Linked DNA regions of Homo sapiens: region 2 is linked to region 1. Evidence: promoter capture Hi-C in 16 types of primary human blood cells and fetal thymus (Javierre and others, 2016). All regions are on one chromosome and are shown on one strand. The core of a region is centred on a gene start or on the middle of the fragment in contact, and the rest is flanking DNA. Distances in the headings are between cores, read along the strand shown. Region 1 holds the start of LPIN2 (lipin 2). Region 2 overlaps MYOM1 (myomesin 1).

Region 1 (7,774 bases), core at 1,372-3,871:
GATTTTAAAATGAAGATTCCAAACCACTGCCTACCAATCTGGCACGGCAAGTCGGGCAAATACACACTCAACGACAGTCACTGGGGTCGGAGTAAAAAGAAATGGATTTAAATTAAAGATGGAAAGACTTAAATCAGACTTAAAGAAAAGCCTCTTGATGTAAATTGCTAAGCACCTACGGGAGATAACCAAATCTACCTGTTACCACTAATCTATCAACTAACAAGACAAAGCCTCCAGCTAGGCGTTACTGTGCTGATATATATTAGGAAATAAGTACCCAAGGCATAGAAAAATCGCTGACACAGAGAACCAAGCCATAATGTAATATTAATAAAAGTAAACATTTGACCCTTTACCACCTCTAACACGTGGCACCACCAGGAATATTCATCCATGCCTCACCATTCAGGGAAGGTAAGTGAGCTCACTCAGGAAGTGCCACCGTCTTCCAGGTCACTGGTAAGGACAAACTGCCTGCTGCGTCTACCTTCATTCAACAGACCTCGACCGAATCGCATCCCAAAGCCGGCTATGTGCTTGGAACTTACTGAGCAGCTATGGAGTTTGGCTTTCAGGAACTCTGGGTCCAGTCCTTAAAACCAAAAGTGCAATACAGGGCGATGAGAACTTCTATTGCTACATTCTCCTAGCAATAAAGAAGACAAAGCCCCAGCTGACTCTATTATTTGCTTCTTAACAGTGCTTTACTATAGTATTAAAGGGTTTTCAAACACTTCATTTCCAGCTTCTCTTAAGCATAATGCGTGCCTATTGACTCTCGACTGTGCCATCAAACGTTAAAACAGAACCTGTCGTTTCATTTCTAGCTTTCTATGGCTACCTCTATCAAAAGTTGGGCATGGAGATACCTTAAGTCTGGCTGGGGCGGTTGCTCACGCCTGTAATCCCAGCTCTTTGGGAGGCCGAGGGGGGCGGATCACCTGAGGTCGGCAGTTCGAGACCAGCCTGGCCAACATGGTGAAACCCCCGGTCTCTAATAAAAATACAAAAATTAGCTGAGTGTGGTGGCTCATGCCTGTAATCCCAGCTACTCGGGAGGCTGGGGCACAAGAATCGCTTTAACAGAGGAGGCAGAGATTGCAGTGATCGGAGATCGCGCAACTACACTCCAGCCTGGGCGACAGAGTGAGACTCTGTCTCGAAATAAAAGAGATACTTCAGTCTGACATACCACAATCAACTACAATGTAATTGGAGGGAAGAGCCGATGTTGGACGGCTATCACACGTGGCTTCACACTGTTCTTTTTCTTCTCTGGCTGGGTACGGCCTGAGGATGACTGCCCTCCAACAACTGAGGATGCTGCAGGAGGACCAGCCCAGCACCTGTCTCCATCCCCTGCACTGTGTGGCCGGCTCTGCCGCTTCTCCCCCGCTTCAGCATCACCTGCCACTTCTTCTCAATCTGAAGCCACTAAGAACGATCAACACCAGACCGTTAAAACATAAACCAGTATGGGCCACTAAATAATTCGTAAATATTTCAAAATGTATTTCAAAACCGACTTTGTATTGTCAAAACATTATAATCTAGCCAGGCCAAGTTTTAATAAACAGTAACACCCATCATCACTACTGGGTAAAGAACTTCATTCAACAGGACCTACCTTGACACCAAGTCTAGAGCCTCGTTTTCAATTAAAAAAAAAATGGGTAAGCCCCAAATGTGCATTAAAAATTAGTTTGGCCATTTACTAAGTAGTCCTTCAAAGCATTTCCAAGTATTCAGAGTTCCAGTACTTTTCGGAAAGGAAGGGTGATCTTTCTGGTACTGGTTTGCATAATTATGCCTAAAAAATGTCATCTTGAATTTTCAATGAAAAGAGTCTTAAAATGTTCAGGCGAGTGGAGAAAATGGTGATCCGCTGGCGTTAGAAGTGGACAGAGAGGCTCTCAGTACAAACTGTATCTGAACGTGTTCCTCACAAATTAAGATCTGCACCGGGGGCTGGGGGGCTTTGAGAAAACTAACCACATTTGAATCCGGTCCACACAGCTTGAAGGCGGAGGTACGGGGCAAAGCGCGGCGGGGAAGAAACACCAGCAACTCGGCGGCCCCCGCCTCGCCGCAGATCACGTGCCCGGCGCCCCCTCCCGCAGGGCCGGGGGCGGGATGGAGACGCGGCCTCCCGCGCGCCTTCCGCACTCCCCTCCGCGCCCCAAACCCAGGGGTAGGGGTGGTCTCGGGTAACCATCCCCAGGGCGGCGGCGAGGGAACTGCGCGGGTTCAGAGTCCTCAGCAGCCACCACTGACGCCCCGACGCCCCCGGCTCCCCGCGCACCCCGCCGGTCCGTCCTGCGGCGGCGGCGGTAGGGGCCGCGTCTACGTGGCGCGGTCGCGGCGAGGCGGGGACTGGGACGCGAGGACCGGGAAGCGGGGACCGCGGCGCGAGGAGGGGCGGCTCAACCCGCGCCGCCCCGGAGGGTCCCGGCCTCCGGCAGGACAGCCCCGGGCCCGCGCCAAGGGAAGCCCCCAGGCGCAGACACTCACCGCCAGCCCCGGAGGGACGCCTGCGAGGAGCCCGGCCCGCGCCCACTTACCCACAGGGGCTCCGCTCCCGGCCAGCGGGCGGCTGAGGGCAGGCGGCGGCTGGACTGCGACGGCTAGGACCCGCCGGGGAGGGAAGCCGAGGGGGCGGGGCCGGTCGGGGGCGCGCGCGGGGTCGGAGCGCCCGCAGCCGCCGCTGCCTTGGAAGCCGCCTGGGCCGCAGCTGAGTCGGGCGGCCCTCATGAATGGGACGCCGCGGCTGCGGCGGCCGAGCCGGCAGCTGGCGGGCGGGCAGCGCGCAGGCCCCGCCCCAGCCACGTGACGCGCGCTCCCGGCCGCGCGCCGCGCCCCCGCCGCCGAGCGCCAGGCGTGCGGCTTCTCACCGCTCCCAGTCCCTGGGCTGCGCGCCCGGGCCCCTGGCCAAGTGAGGGCGGGGCCTCGATTTTCTAGTGCCTCGGGCGACAGGAGCCTTACTTTGTTTTAAAAAAAAAAAGTTTCTTCCGGTCCCCATGGCAACCCTGCGGCAGGTCACGTGGGACTGAGAGCCCAATTGCCAAAAAGGAATGTTAAAGTGCAAAAAAAGTCTAGGGAATGAATGTTTTATAATCCCCTTTTGATCACTAGTAGCACATCTCCTTTGCTTACTTACATCTCCACCGAAAAAAAAAAAATCCTATTACACAACTCATTTTTAAAAATATGCCGGGGTTCTGTTGTTTTTTGTTTATTCTTTTTATCGCTCTGTTACCCCGGCTGGTCTCCAACTCCTGGGCTCAAGCATCCCCGCACCTCGGCCTCCCAAAGTACTGGAATTACAGGCATGAGCCACCGTCCCCAGCATTAAAATATACTTTTTAAGAAATGGGTGGCTCACGCCTGTAATCCTAGCACTTTGGAAGGCCGAGGCAGGCGGATCACTTGAGGTCAGGAGTTCAAGACCAGCCTGGCCAACATGGTGAAACCCCCGTCTCTACTAAAAATACAAAAAACCAGCCGGGCGTGGTGGCGCGTGCCTGTAATCCCAGCTTCTCAGGAGGCTGAGGCAGGAGAATCAGTTGAACCCGGGAGGCGGAGATTGCAGTGAGCCGAGATGGCGCTATTGCACTCCAGCCTGGCGACAGAGAGACTCCGTCTCAGAAAGAAAAGAAATGGGGCCCGGCGCGGTGGCTCACGCCGGTAATCCCAGCACTTTGGGAGGCCAAGGCGGGTCGATCGCCTGAGGTCAGGAGTTGGAGACTAGCCTGGCCAACGTGGCAAAACCCCGCCTCTACTAAAAATACAAAAATTAGCCGGGCATGTTGGCTGCAATCCCAGCTACTTAGGAGGCAGAGGCGGTAGAATCACTTGAACCCGGGGGGCGGAGGTTGCAGTGAGCAGAGATTGCGCCACTTCACTCCAGCCTGGGAGCGAAACTCTGTCTCAAAAAAAAAAAAAACAAAAAAAACTGGATTGCTGGTGCTATATACTATTGGTGCACACTGGTTTTTAATTTGCAGCCTATTCTATTACTATTCTATGATTGAAAGTAATGAACAGAAGCCTATGTTACTTCTATATAAATGGCAGTTAATTTATGAGGTGCATCTTGTGTGTGATCATTTATACAGTTCTAAGGGTACTGAAATAGGCATTTGCATACACAAAGCTGCTCCTTGAAGGATCCAGCTGCAGCCCAGTTTCTTCCCACCAGTGCCTGGTGTAGCTGGGCAGTGCTTGGATTCAGGGAGCAGGCGACCACTTCTTCACTGAAGTTCCTTCTGCTTTTCTGTGAAACTCGATCAAGTTTTGCCCCATCTGTAATCAAGGCCCTACAGAAACATAGGTAGTTTCACTGGCACAAGACCACTAGGAATTTTCCTCATTTCACTGCTTCTCACTTGGCTTCACAAGTAAAATAAAAATTGAAGAGGACTAAAATATCCCCCTCCGTATTCAATGGATTTTATAAATATGGAGAAGAAAAATTAAAGCTAGAGAAAGAATTTAATCCTCAGTTTCTACGTCAGTAAAATAAAGATAGTAGTGTCTTTCTTACAGAATTGTTTTGTGGATTCCCCGTGATAACCTATAAAGTGCCTACGTTAGTGTCTGCAACCTGGAACAGGCTGTTAGCGTTTATTTTCTTTCCTTTCTTCCATTTCTCCCACTTAGACTTTTCCTGTTTCTCTCAGGCTATTTTCTCTATCTCTGCCTTGGGAGGGAAATATTCTGCCAAGCTCCCTTCCTTCCTTTCATCATTCAGGAAGCCCTAGAGCTCCCCTCCCTTCCTCCAAACAACCTTGCGTTTGAGACCTCACTCAGAACGATTGGTTCATATTGCTAATATTTTCCTCATTTTCCCGTGTCCACCAGCTTACACTACCACTTAAGTGGTGACTCATTAAATGTTTGTTGCATGATAAATCCCTTCACCTCCTGCCCTAGGAAGTGTGGAGGGGCCACCCCAGGTCCACCTACTCCACTGGAGTGTCAGAGGAAGAAAGCGCTTCCTTCAACTGGCCTCTGACCCACCACCTTCCAGCTCCAAGGTGAGGAACCTCACTCCACTAATTGTCCCCTCTTCCTCAATTCTGGCTTCATTCCTGCACTTGAAAAAGAAGCTTTTGTGGCCCCTCCGTTCCCCCTCAGGCTGTCGACTTATCACACAGCTTCTCTTCCCACCCAAGCTACCTGAAAGAGTTTCAGGTTTTCTCCCATCTTCACAGGGTTGCTCCTCCTCTAACCCTGAAACTGCTCAGGCTAAAGTCACTATGACCTTCTGGTTGCCGAAGAAAACAGACCCCTTTCCTGTCCCATGCCTCATGATCTCTGCAGGGCAAGATGCTGTTGATCATTATTTCCTTCTTGAAACTCTCTCCTCCCCTCATTAGTGGGAACTCCTCTGAATTCTACATGCCTGTGCTCAGTGGCTTTCAACGTCTCAACCAGCAAGGTCCACAGTGATGTCAGATTCAAACCCATTATTTGTGCTTCTTCAAACCTGCTCCACCTGAATCTCCTATCCTGGCTGATGGCGCTGTCATCTGTTTAGACATACTTGCCAGAAACCTAGGAGGGAGTCTCATTTCCCTCTACTCCCATGCTGTTTCCATCACTCCTCCTCATTATTCCTCCTCATGATTCCTACTCTTGGTCCTCTGTCGCACCACTCACCCCTGCTTGTGATTAGGCCCTCGCCATTTCTCTTGTGGTCCATTGTAGGAATATGCCAGCTGGTCTCCCTACCCTCTAGTCCTGCCCAATTCTAAGCATCCTCTACTCTGAATTGCAGACCTGGCCATGGCACAGGTGGTTGGCAACCCATTGTCTTGACGAAGCAAGCCAAGTTCCCTAGCGTGGCATCCAGTGTGCTCCTTTTCTCTCTAATTTTCTCTCCTGCTCCTTCTAGTCTGTATGCTTCAGCCATTCCATCATCCCTTTTGCAACAGGATTTTTTTTTTTTTTTTGGAGACAGGGTCTCACTCTGTTGTTCAGGCCAAAGTGAAGTGGTGTGATCACGGTTCACTGCAACCTCAAACTCCTGGGCTCAATCGAGCCTCCCACCTTAGCCACCCAAAGTACTGGAATTACAGGCTTGAGCCACAGTAGCTGGTAAGAATAATTTTTCATATATTAACTTCTGTGTTTTTCCTTAGAGTTCTCTCTTTCTTCTTCTCCTTATAAGAATGCACCCAGGCATTCTGCTTGTCTCAGGAGGTTGTTGGCAGAGTGGAAAGCAGAAGTTGTCTGCAAGACATTTCCTTCCTGTCTTTTATTTCCAAAACACTATGCTCAGTGAGGAACCTGTCTCAGTCAAGGGGGAGAGGGCCAGGGAGAAGGCATATCTTTGAGGGAATCTGGAAAGCAGAGAAGGATTTTCTCTAGAATAAGAATCAAGTATCCCCGACCTGGAGTTGGAAGGAGGTGGTCCTATGCCCTCCTGTCTGGCAGCTCCCAGGGGAGGTGATTCAACCTTAGAAAAATAGCTTTGTTATTCCCAGCTTCTGCATCTCTTTCTCTGTGAGGACAGAGAATAGCTAGCATTTTCTGTACCATCACTGTGTGCCCAGCTCTTCTAGTAATTCAACTTCTATCATTAACACCAGTTTACAGAGGAAGGAACTACGGCACAGAGATGTTGGGTAACTTGCCTCAGATCTCACAACTCGTCAGCAGTGTTGATAGAATTTGCCTCCAGCCCTCCTTGACTCCTAAACCCATATTTTTTTCTTCTCTTTCTAAAAAAGTTATTATTTAGCCATCAAATGAATGAACCAAAACTATTTTTTTTAATTTATTTTTAGTAGAGATGGGGTTTTGCCATGTTGCCCAGGCTGGTCTCGAAATACTGGCCTCAAATGATCCGCCCACCTCAGCCTCCCAAAGTGCTGGGATTACAGGCATGAGCCACCAGGCCCAGCATAAACCTGTATTTTTAACTACCTCCCACCACCTTCCCTCAATTGCCCTACTGCCCTACCCCAGTCGATGTATTTTTTCTTATGCCTCTAGTCCACCTTGCACAGATCACAATTATAGTACTTATTATACACATAGTAGGTGCTGAGTAAATACGTGATGAAAAATAAGTGAAGATTTCTATTTCATCTGATAGGCTCAGCTGGGTGTCTAGACCAACTTTCCCTCACTGAAAACAAAAACAAAAATACTGGGCAAAATAATAAAAATATATTCTGGAAGGCATCTATAAACTGGCAAGAAATTAAGAAATTGCCCCAGGACAGGGTGAAGGTCAGAACCCAGAGAGGTAAGCCGAGCCCAAAGTCAGCATATGCCTGGAGGATTTTTGCTGAATCTAGTGAGTTTGAACGTTGATTTTTGAAGCCTTGGGAGTTTTGTGCAGCAGAAGTAAAGGTTAGCATGTACTTTAAGTAGGGAGATTAATAGAAGACCCAATAAATACAGAATTGCAAAAGCAAAATAGTAGAATAAGAAAAAAAATTACTTCTCAAGCCGACCCAGAAACCTCACTAAAGCTGGTAACATATGAACATATAAAACACATATAGGCCGGGTGCAGTGGCTCACACCTGTAATCCCAGCACTTTGGGAGGCCGAGACAGGCCGATCACTTGAGGTCAGGAGTTCGAGGCTAGCCTGGCCAACATGGTGAAACCCGTCTCTACTAAAAACACAAAAATTAGCCAGGTGTGGTGGCGCACAACTGTAGTCCCAGCTACTCAGGAGGCTGAGGTAGGAGAATCACTTGAACCCAAGACACAGAGGCAGTGAGCCAAGATGGGGCCACTGCACTCCAGCCTGA
Region 2 (7,774 bases), core at 2,047-4,546, 98 kb after region 1:
TTAGTTTATAGTTTAACTTGAAAGCAAGAATGATAATAGTCCTCTCTGTTCAGGGGCTGAAACCACTAATGGGAGGTTACAAGACAGGTGTAGTTTCTATTATCCCTTACTGCTTAGATGTTATGTGGCCAGAGGTCACAAGATCTGTGAGCTTCCCAGTTGCTCCTATAGATAACATCAGTATTGTAGAACCTAAGATTGTTTTCTTTTAGATGTTTTTAAGACTGACCCCACCCAGACTCCTGACTTGTGACTCAATTTACTTTCCCCATTGTAGGCATCTTGGTCTTCTAAGTCACTCTTAAAAAAATGCCCTTACTCAAAGAACCTCTGAGCCTTCAGGGAGACTGATTTGACTGATAACTCTAGGTCTCTCGCTTCAGCTGGCCTCAGGTCAATTAAATTCTCAACTGCAATGCTGCAGTCGCAGTGGATTGATTTTGTCTATGCAGTGGGAAGGGAGAACCTAATGGGCGATTACACTAACAAAGAAAATATTCTAGTGGCAGTGGGTTTCCTACTTAATTTTATACTCAGAATTTGAAGCTGGATCTCCTCCTTGATAAATTTGATGAGGAATTAAATAATTATTTAAATAAGGGTCCTGTACATAGTAGACAAAAAATTCTATTGCAATTTAACAAAAGGTACATGATACTCAAATGGATGATTCTTTCTATAGATGCCCTAGCAAAACCAAAGCCCATATATTAGCCTATAAAGCAATGACAGCATTTTTTTTTTTTCGAGATGGAGTCTTGCTCTGTCACCCAGGCTGGAGTGCAGTGGCGTGATCTCAGCTCACTGCAACCTCCACCTCCTGGGTCCAAGCAATTCTGCCTCAGTCTCCCAAGTAGCTGGGATTACAGGTGCGGACCACCACACCCAGCTAATTTTTGTATTTTCAGTAGAAACAGGGTTTCACCATGTTGGCCAGGCTGATCTCGAACTCCTGACCTTGTGATCCGCCTGTCTTGGCCTCCCAAAGTGCTGGGATAATAGGCGTGAGGCACCGTGTCCGGCCAATGACAGCATTTCAGAATTTCTAACATGCCCCAGGCTAACCCACCAGGTAGTGCCTTGTGGAGATTAACTTGGTACAATATCACAGAAAAAGCCTGACAGAAAAGTCTACCTATAACATCCTCCTCAAATTTTCCTTTTTCTTTTTCCTTTTTTTTTTTGAGATGGAGTCTTGCTCTGTTGCCCAGGCTGGAGTGCAGTGATGTGATCTTGGCTCACTGTGACCTCTGCCTCCCAGGTTCAAGTGATTCTCCTGCCTTATCCTCCTGAGAAGCTGGGATTACAGATGCCCGCCACACGCCCAGCTAATTTTTTTTGTATTTTTAGTAGAGATGGGGTTTCACCATGTTGGCCAGGCTAGTCTCGAACCCCTGACCTCAGGTAATCCGCCCGCCTTGGCCTCCCAAAGTGCTGGGATTACAGGCGTGAATCACCGTACCTAGCCAAATTTTCTCTTTAGAATATCCCACAACTTAGCTGAGGTTTTCCAGAGCTGAGCTCCTATCAATTAATTATGGTTGAACTCTGAGAAATGCCTAAAGAGGCATATTCTCTCAAGTTGATTGAGGGATGTGGTTCTGATAATTAATGGGCAGGAAGCAAGTTTGATGTTCTGCTATCAAAGTAAAGTGGTCTTTGTGGTATTCTTATCCAGATGAGAGGCCATCCCACTTTCCCACAAAGTTGGGCTGGAAAAGTGGACCAAAATTTGGCATAACTTAGATTTTCTCAGAAACAACCTCTTAACCTGCTCATGAATGTGAAGAACTTAACTAAGATCTCAGGAGGTTTATGTATAGAACATGAGAGAGTTGTTGTCGTTGTTGCCTAAAAAGGATTTAAGAAGAGTTGTCACTAGTCAACTCCTCAACCTAAGCGAATCCTTAATACAGACACAGAGATAACTGATTTTAACAGATCTCATTTTACATTACTATTATTATTATTTTTTCTTTCCTATTCTTTTCTAATAGAGACAGGTCCCACTATGTTGCTCAGGGTGGTCTCCAACTCCTGGGCTCAAGTGATCCTCCTATCTGGACTCCCAAAGTGTTGGGATTACAGGGCCAAGACAGCATTCCAATGATCCCTCCAAGGCTTGCCCAGAACTCCTGGTATCCTAATGGGTTCAAGTGTGGCTCAGGACTAAAATGAACTATTTGGAAATTAACTCATTTCATCCCACTTTTCTTTCTCTTCCCCACAAAAAATGATAATAAAGGATAAAATTTAAAAGCTTAAATAAAATCACAGTAAACTGTTCACGTTCCTATACATTTTGTAATCTGATATGATAATTCTTTCTCATATAAAGTGTTTTACATGAGCATGAATATATCACTTTTATAAGCTTTAATTATTTGTTCTCCATGCTGTGGGTGTGCGTGGGGGTGTGCGTGTGTGTGTGGTGATGTTTAAAAAACTGAAGCATGGGACAGAATAGAAGCAGAGGAAAGTGAGTTAATGTAATGGGTCACGTGTAGTACTGAGCTGCCCTGGGTTTCAGACGAGGACTGGCGGCTGACCATTCAGCCTCATGCCCACCTTGGAGCCTCCACCAGACATTTCTTCCCCAGCTCACCCATCATAACCAGGGCAGGCAGTACAAGACGACTGGGGTGAAGTGCACACACTGAGGCTTCAAGACAGTGTCACACTCACTGGCAAACATGCTAGTCATTCATTATTTTTTCATTTAATAAATTAGCTATTATATACCTGGTACTATGTTAGACTCTCAGCACATGTACAGAAAAGACACAGTTCCTATTTTGAGGAGCTATGGTCTAAAGTACAGTTCACAAGCCTGTTTTCACACTGGAATTACCCAAATTGCTAAGTAAACAAACAAACAGCAATAAGCCTATGTTCAGGTACCCAGCCTAAGAGATTCTTTTTTTTCTTTTTTTTTTTTTTTAGAATATCTGATCTTCTGTCATCATCCCATCAGCCCTAAAGATCCTGATTTAATTGGTCTGGAGTTGAGTCCAGATAGCAGTATTTTCAAAACAGTCCTCGTATGATTCTAATGTACAGGCAAGATTGAAAACTACGGTTCTAGCAGATGAAAGAGATCAGTTAGCAAGCAAATACAAGTGCAGTTTTCTTTTTTAAATTTTCTTTCTTTTTTTGGGATGGAGTCTCTCACTGTCGCCTGGGATGGAGTGCAATGGCACAATCTCAGCTCACTGCAACCTCTGCCTCCTGGGTTCACGCGATTTTCCTGCCTCAGCCTCCCGAGCAGCTAGGATTACAGGCACTCACCACCACATCCAGCTAATTTAAAAATTTGGTAGAGGTGGGGTTCTGCCAAGTTGCCCAGGCTGCTCTCGAATTCCTAGGTTCCTCCAGCCTCAGCTGCCCAAAGTGTTGGGATTACAGACATGAGCCACAGTGCCTGGCCTCCGGTGCTTTCCTTTATGTAACTTTAATGAACTGAAATATATGATAACGTTGAAAAATAATACAGGTTAAATGATAAAAGAAATTATTATGTAATGATCTGAAACTCGTTGGACAATGAACACAGTAAACTCTGTTCTCATAAGAAACGGCAAGTCTGTCTTCTCTAGTAATCACGGCATCTTTGAAACTGGGAAATGAGGGCTGCCTCGAATCTATAAACCATTCAGTTGGGACCACTGTTAGTTTAGCCCAGGGGTCAGCAAACTATGGCCTGTGGGCTAAATCTGGCCCATTACCTCTTTTTGCAAGGGCTGCAAGCTAAGAATGGTTTTTATATTTTTAAATAGTTGAAAAAATTGAAAGAAGATTACTATTTCAAAACACAGGAAAATTATACAAGATTGAAATTTTATAATGCATATAACGCATCACATTATATAATACATATAATGTGCATGATAAAGTTTTATTAGAACACAGCCATGCTCATTAGTTTATGTATCCTCAATGGCTTCTTTTGTGTCATGGCAGAGTTAAGAAGTTGTGACAGAGACCACAGGGCTGTTGAGTGATAAATATTATCTGGCCCTCCACAGAAAAAGTTTGCTGACCTCTGGTTTAAACATAATAGCTACAATTACATAAATCCTACTTTCGTTTAAGGATTGTGCCCACTAGCTGGGCTGTTCTAGCTTCCCCTATGATTGGGAAAATATTCTTATGAGACTTAATGGCCAGGGTGTAATAGGAATAACATTCCAGGAATGAATGCTTGGAACAGTTGGTCCGGGAAGCTTAACTTGATCAAGAACTTCCGGGTTTTTAGGTATGCATCAGAACAGCCCCTAGACCACGTCAAACCTGGCTCAACCCTGTCCTGAGGTGCCTGTGATGGGACCAATGACTGTCATGTTCTAAGATCATTACTTATCAATTATATTCAGATAGCACACATTGATTGTTTTGAAAATTAGAGGAAAGCACAGAAAGGCCGAACCTTAGTTCAGTATCTTACACAGATAGGATTAGTTTTAATGAAAAGGTGAAAGCCCACCTGGACGGGTCTCTGCCACAACAGGGCCAGCAAGGTCAGATGGCTTCCCAACTCCCGCCTGGTTTATGGCTCGAACACGGAACACGTAGCTGACGCCCTCCTTGAGGCCTCGAACCTGGTAGAAGCAGGTGTAGAAGCAATGGGTGTTTGATGAAGCAGTGGCTGTTTTATGTCATTTAAACAGACGGGGCTCTTCCTCTGTAGTAATGATTTAGTGACCTAGCACCAGGGATACAAGACTTGTGGTCTAGATTTGATTCTGTCAAACACTACGCAGGTGACTTTAGCTGTAGATGGTCTTCTCTCTAGACCATCTGTAGATAGAGAGGAGTTTCCAATATCCATTCTCACTTTGATGTTTCTCCTTTTTAGTTAATTTAGTGGCCACCAACATCAGAAACAGAGACTAGTGTACGTAGGTGTCACATGCGTTAGCCACTGTATTCTTTGGTCAAAAGGACAAAATACAAAGTGCTCATTATAGCATATATGTCGCTTTTCCCCCCAATCCTTTTGAGACATTCCATGAATAATTTCAGATGGAATTCTTGGCAAAAGAGGAGAATTAAAAGCATGAATCATGAACACTTTCCATTTGTTTAAAAGCATGTTAAACTACTAAAACCAAAACAAACAATAATTGTTCCTGTAAATTTAATATAGCTATTTCTTACTAAATAGACATGAAATTAACACAATTGTGAGTTTGAATAATTTGTGAATAACCAAAGTGTATTAAAATTCTAAATCCTCAAGTTTTTAATGATCAAGATGTGTGCTGAGAATCCACTACATATGTGCCACTAAACTAGAATTACTAAGAGCTGTAAAAAAAAAGCATTTATAATTTATTTTTGTATGACAGTCCCACTTCATGTATATATACACACACATACATATATACACACATGTATATATATATACACACATGTATATATATATACACACACATCTATGTGTGTATATGTGTATGTATATATATGTGTGTATGTGTTTGTGTCTATATATATATATATATATATATATATATATATATATGTATGTATTTCTGAGACAGAGTTTCACTCTGTTGCTCAGGCGGAGTACAGTGGCACAATCTCAGCTCACTGTAGCCTGGACCTCCTGGGATCAAGCAATCCTCCTGCCTCAGCCTCTTGAATAGTTGGGACCACAGACATGTGCCAGCACACCAGGCTACCTAAAAACAATTTTTTTTATAGATACGGGATTTCTCCATGTTGCCCAGGCTGGTCTCAAACTCCTGGGCTCAAGCAATTTTCCCACCTCAGCCTCCCACAGTGTTGGGATTACAGGAGTGAGCCACCATGCCTGGTTTCCTACTTAATTTTTTGTAACTTTCTTTGGGTTTTGAATAATCTCATTACTATTACCAATACTGTTAATGTTTTATCAACATTTTTATTTTAAAAACATGTGACTTTTAAAAGCTATGTTATAAGAAGGAATTTATTACACAGAGGGCATAATTTTTCCCCAAGATGTGATAGAGACCAATATCCAAAATGTGATTTAAATCAAACAATGTTGGAATAAAGTTATTCAATTATGTGAAGTGTTTGTGACCATGTATTTAAATGAGGTACGTATTAAATTGTTAGGTTTTTAATCTAACTAATTGTATTTGTTTACAGCAGAATGTCACTATTTATGTAGTAATAGCCCTCACTGGCACTAACGGATTTTTGAAATGGATTTTATTCTGTAAATGAACTTTAACTTAGTTATAGGTTAAATGTATAGAGCCTGACATATTTAAATTCTATGTTTAGAAATAATGCCAGGAAACTGTGGATTTCCAGAAGAACACAGAAACATTTCCGTGTAATAAAAATAGAGTAATCGCCAGGTACCTGACACATCTGCACCTGCCACCTAGGTGATGATGTATGGCTGTGAGTCAGATTTCTGCAACATGTACAGGAAGTCTGTTCATATTCCAGTGTCTGGTCCCTGGGGTGACAGGGGCACTCTCTGCTCTTCCATCACCACAGGGGCAATGACCACTGGCCTCAACAGTACCACAAATACGTAATCGAGATCATCGATGCAGATCTATTTTCCCTTTTTTTTTTTTTTCGAGACAGAGTCTCGTTCTGTTGCCCGGGCTGGAGTGCAGTGGTGCAATCACAGCTCACTGCAGCTTCCGCCTCCCTGGTTCAAGCAATCCTCCCATCTCAGCCTCCTGAGTAGCTGGGAATACAGGCACATGCCACCATGGTCAGCTAATTTTTTTTTTTTTTTTTTTTTTTTTAGAGACAGGGTTTTGCCATGTTTCCCATGGTCTTGAACTCCTGGGCTCAAGTGATTTGCCTGCCTTGGCCTCCCAAAGCCCTGGGATTATAGGCATGAGTCACCGTGCCTGGCCTACTTTCTTCTTTGTGCTTCTTATGTTTGAATTTTTCATTTAAATTGTTAGTTTTATAATCAGAAAAATAAAAAAAGATTATTTTCACTTTATAAAAACTGTTGATAAAATGTAAGAACTCTCCTTACGGAAGTTCACTTCCAGGTTTGTTAGGTATACTTAACCTCAGTCTCTCTTTCTCTCTCTGTCTCTCTGTTAAAATTCCCGTTATTCTTTTTCTTTTTAAAAATGAGTGACATTAACCATTCTTTCACACATTTAAACTCTACTTTTTTTTTTCTTTTTGTTTGCTTCTTCACCTTTGTTTCGCTTCACCCTAGTCAGTTCAAACCTCAGGCCCTTGGCATCCTCTACAGTGGCAGACTGAAGACTTGGAAATCTTCATCCCAGCCATATACACCCACCACCATCATCTAGGATGTTCCTGACCTTTATTTTACACTGTACTTTGGGGGTTTCTCGGAATCCAGGGACCTCTGGACTCATCTTGACAGCAAACAACATCATAGGCTTCAGTCCTTCCTTGAACTTTTCTCTTCCTCATGAAAAGATGACCTGTCTTATTTCTTCAGAGTTTTGCAAGAAGCTGGAGAGCTGATTGGCATATGCTAAGTTGAGTTAATGGCAAGTTGGGTATAATGGTTTATGGGCTGTATCTCCTGGAGGATATATTTACATAGTTTAGAGTGGCTGGAAATACCCTAACCCTGGAGAGTGGCTGATAGATGGAAGGGACTTAGTTCATGAGGCAGGTCAGGGAGAGATCTTTTTGGCCAGGTATACTTTGAGTATCTTCCAAAGCCCACCTTATAGGCAATGACCTCTTCTGCCAAAAGATAGGACTGTGCAAACGCAGTGTGTAACTTCCTGAGTGACTGTGGTGAAGTCAGTCACATTTCATTCTA

The links. The method cuts DNA at HindIII sites, captures the fragments that hold promoters and counts their contacts. A CHiCAGO score of 5 or more calls a contact.
Region 2: a fragment that was not itself captured here is called in contact with the fragment with the promoter of LPIN2 in region 1 in 9 of 17 cell types (naive CD8 T cells, naive CD4 T cells, total CD4 T cells and 6 more); the score reaches 16.3 in naive CD8 T cells.

Annotation. Positions count from the first base shown.
Region 1 is chr18:3,010,523-3,018,296 of GRCh38, forward strand. LPIN2 (lipin 2) reads right to left here and starts at 2,622. Exons shown (of 20, transcript NM_001375808.2): 1 at 2,565-2,622. RefSeq lists a silencer at 2,063-3,012. The HindIII fragment of the contact is 8,581 bases long and covers 1-5,109 here.
Region 2 is chr18:3,107,815-3,115,588 of GRCh38, forward strand. MYOM1 (myomesin 1) reads right to left here. Exons shown (of 38, transcript NM_003803.4): 22 at 4,484-4,598. Among named protein-coding and RNA genes, the nearest start is that of LPIN2, 99 kb to the left of the region's middle. The HindIII fragment of the contact is 1,849 bases long and covers 2,373-4,221 here.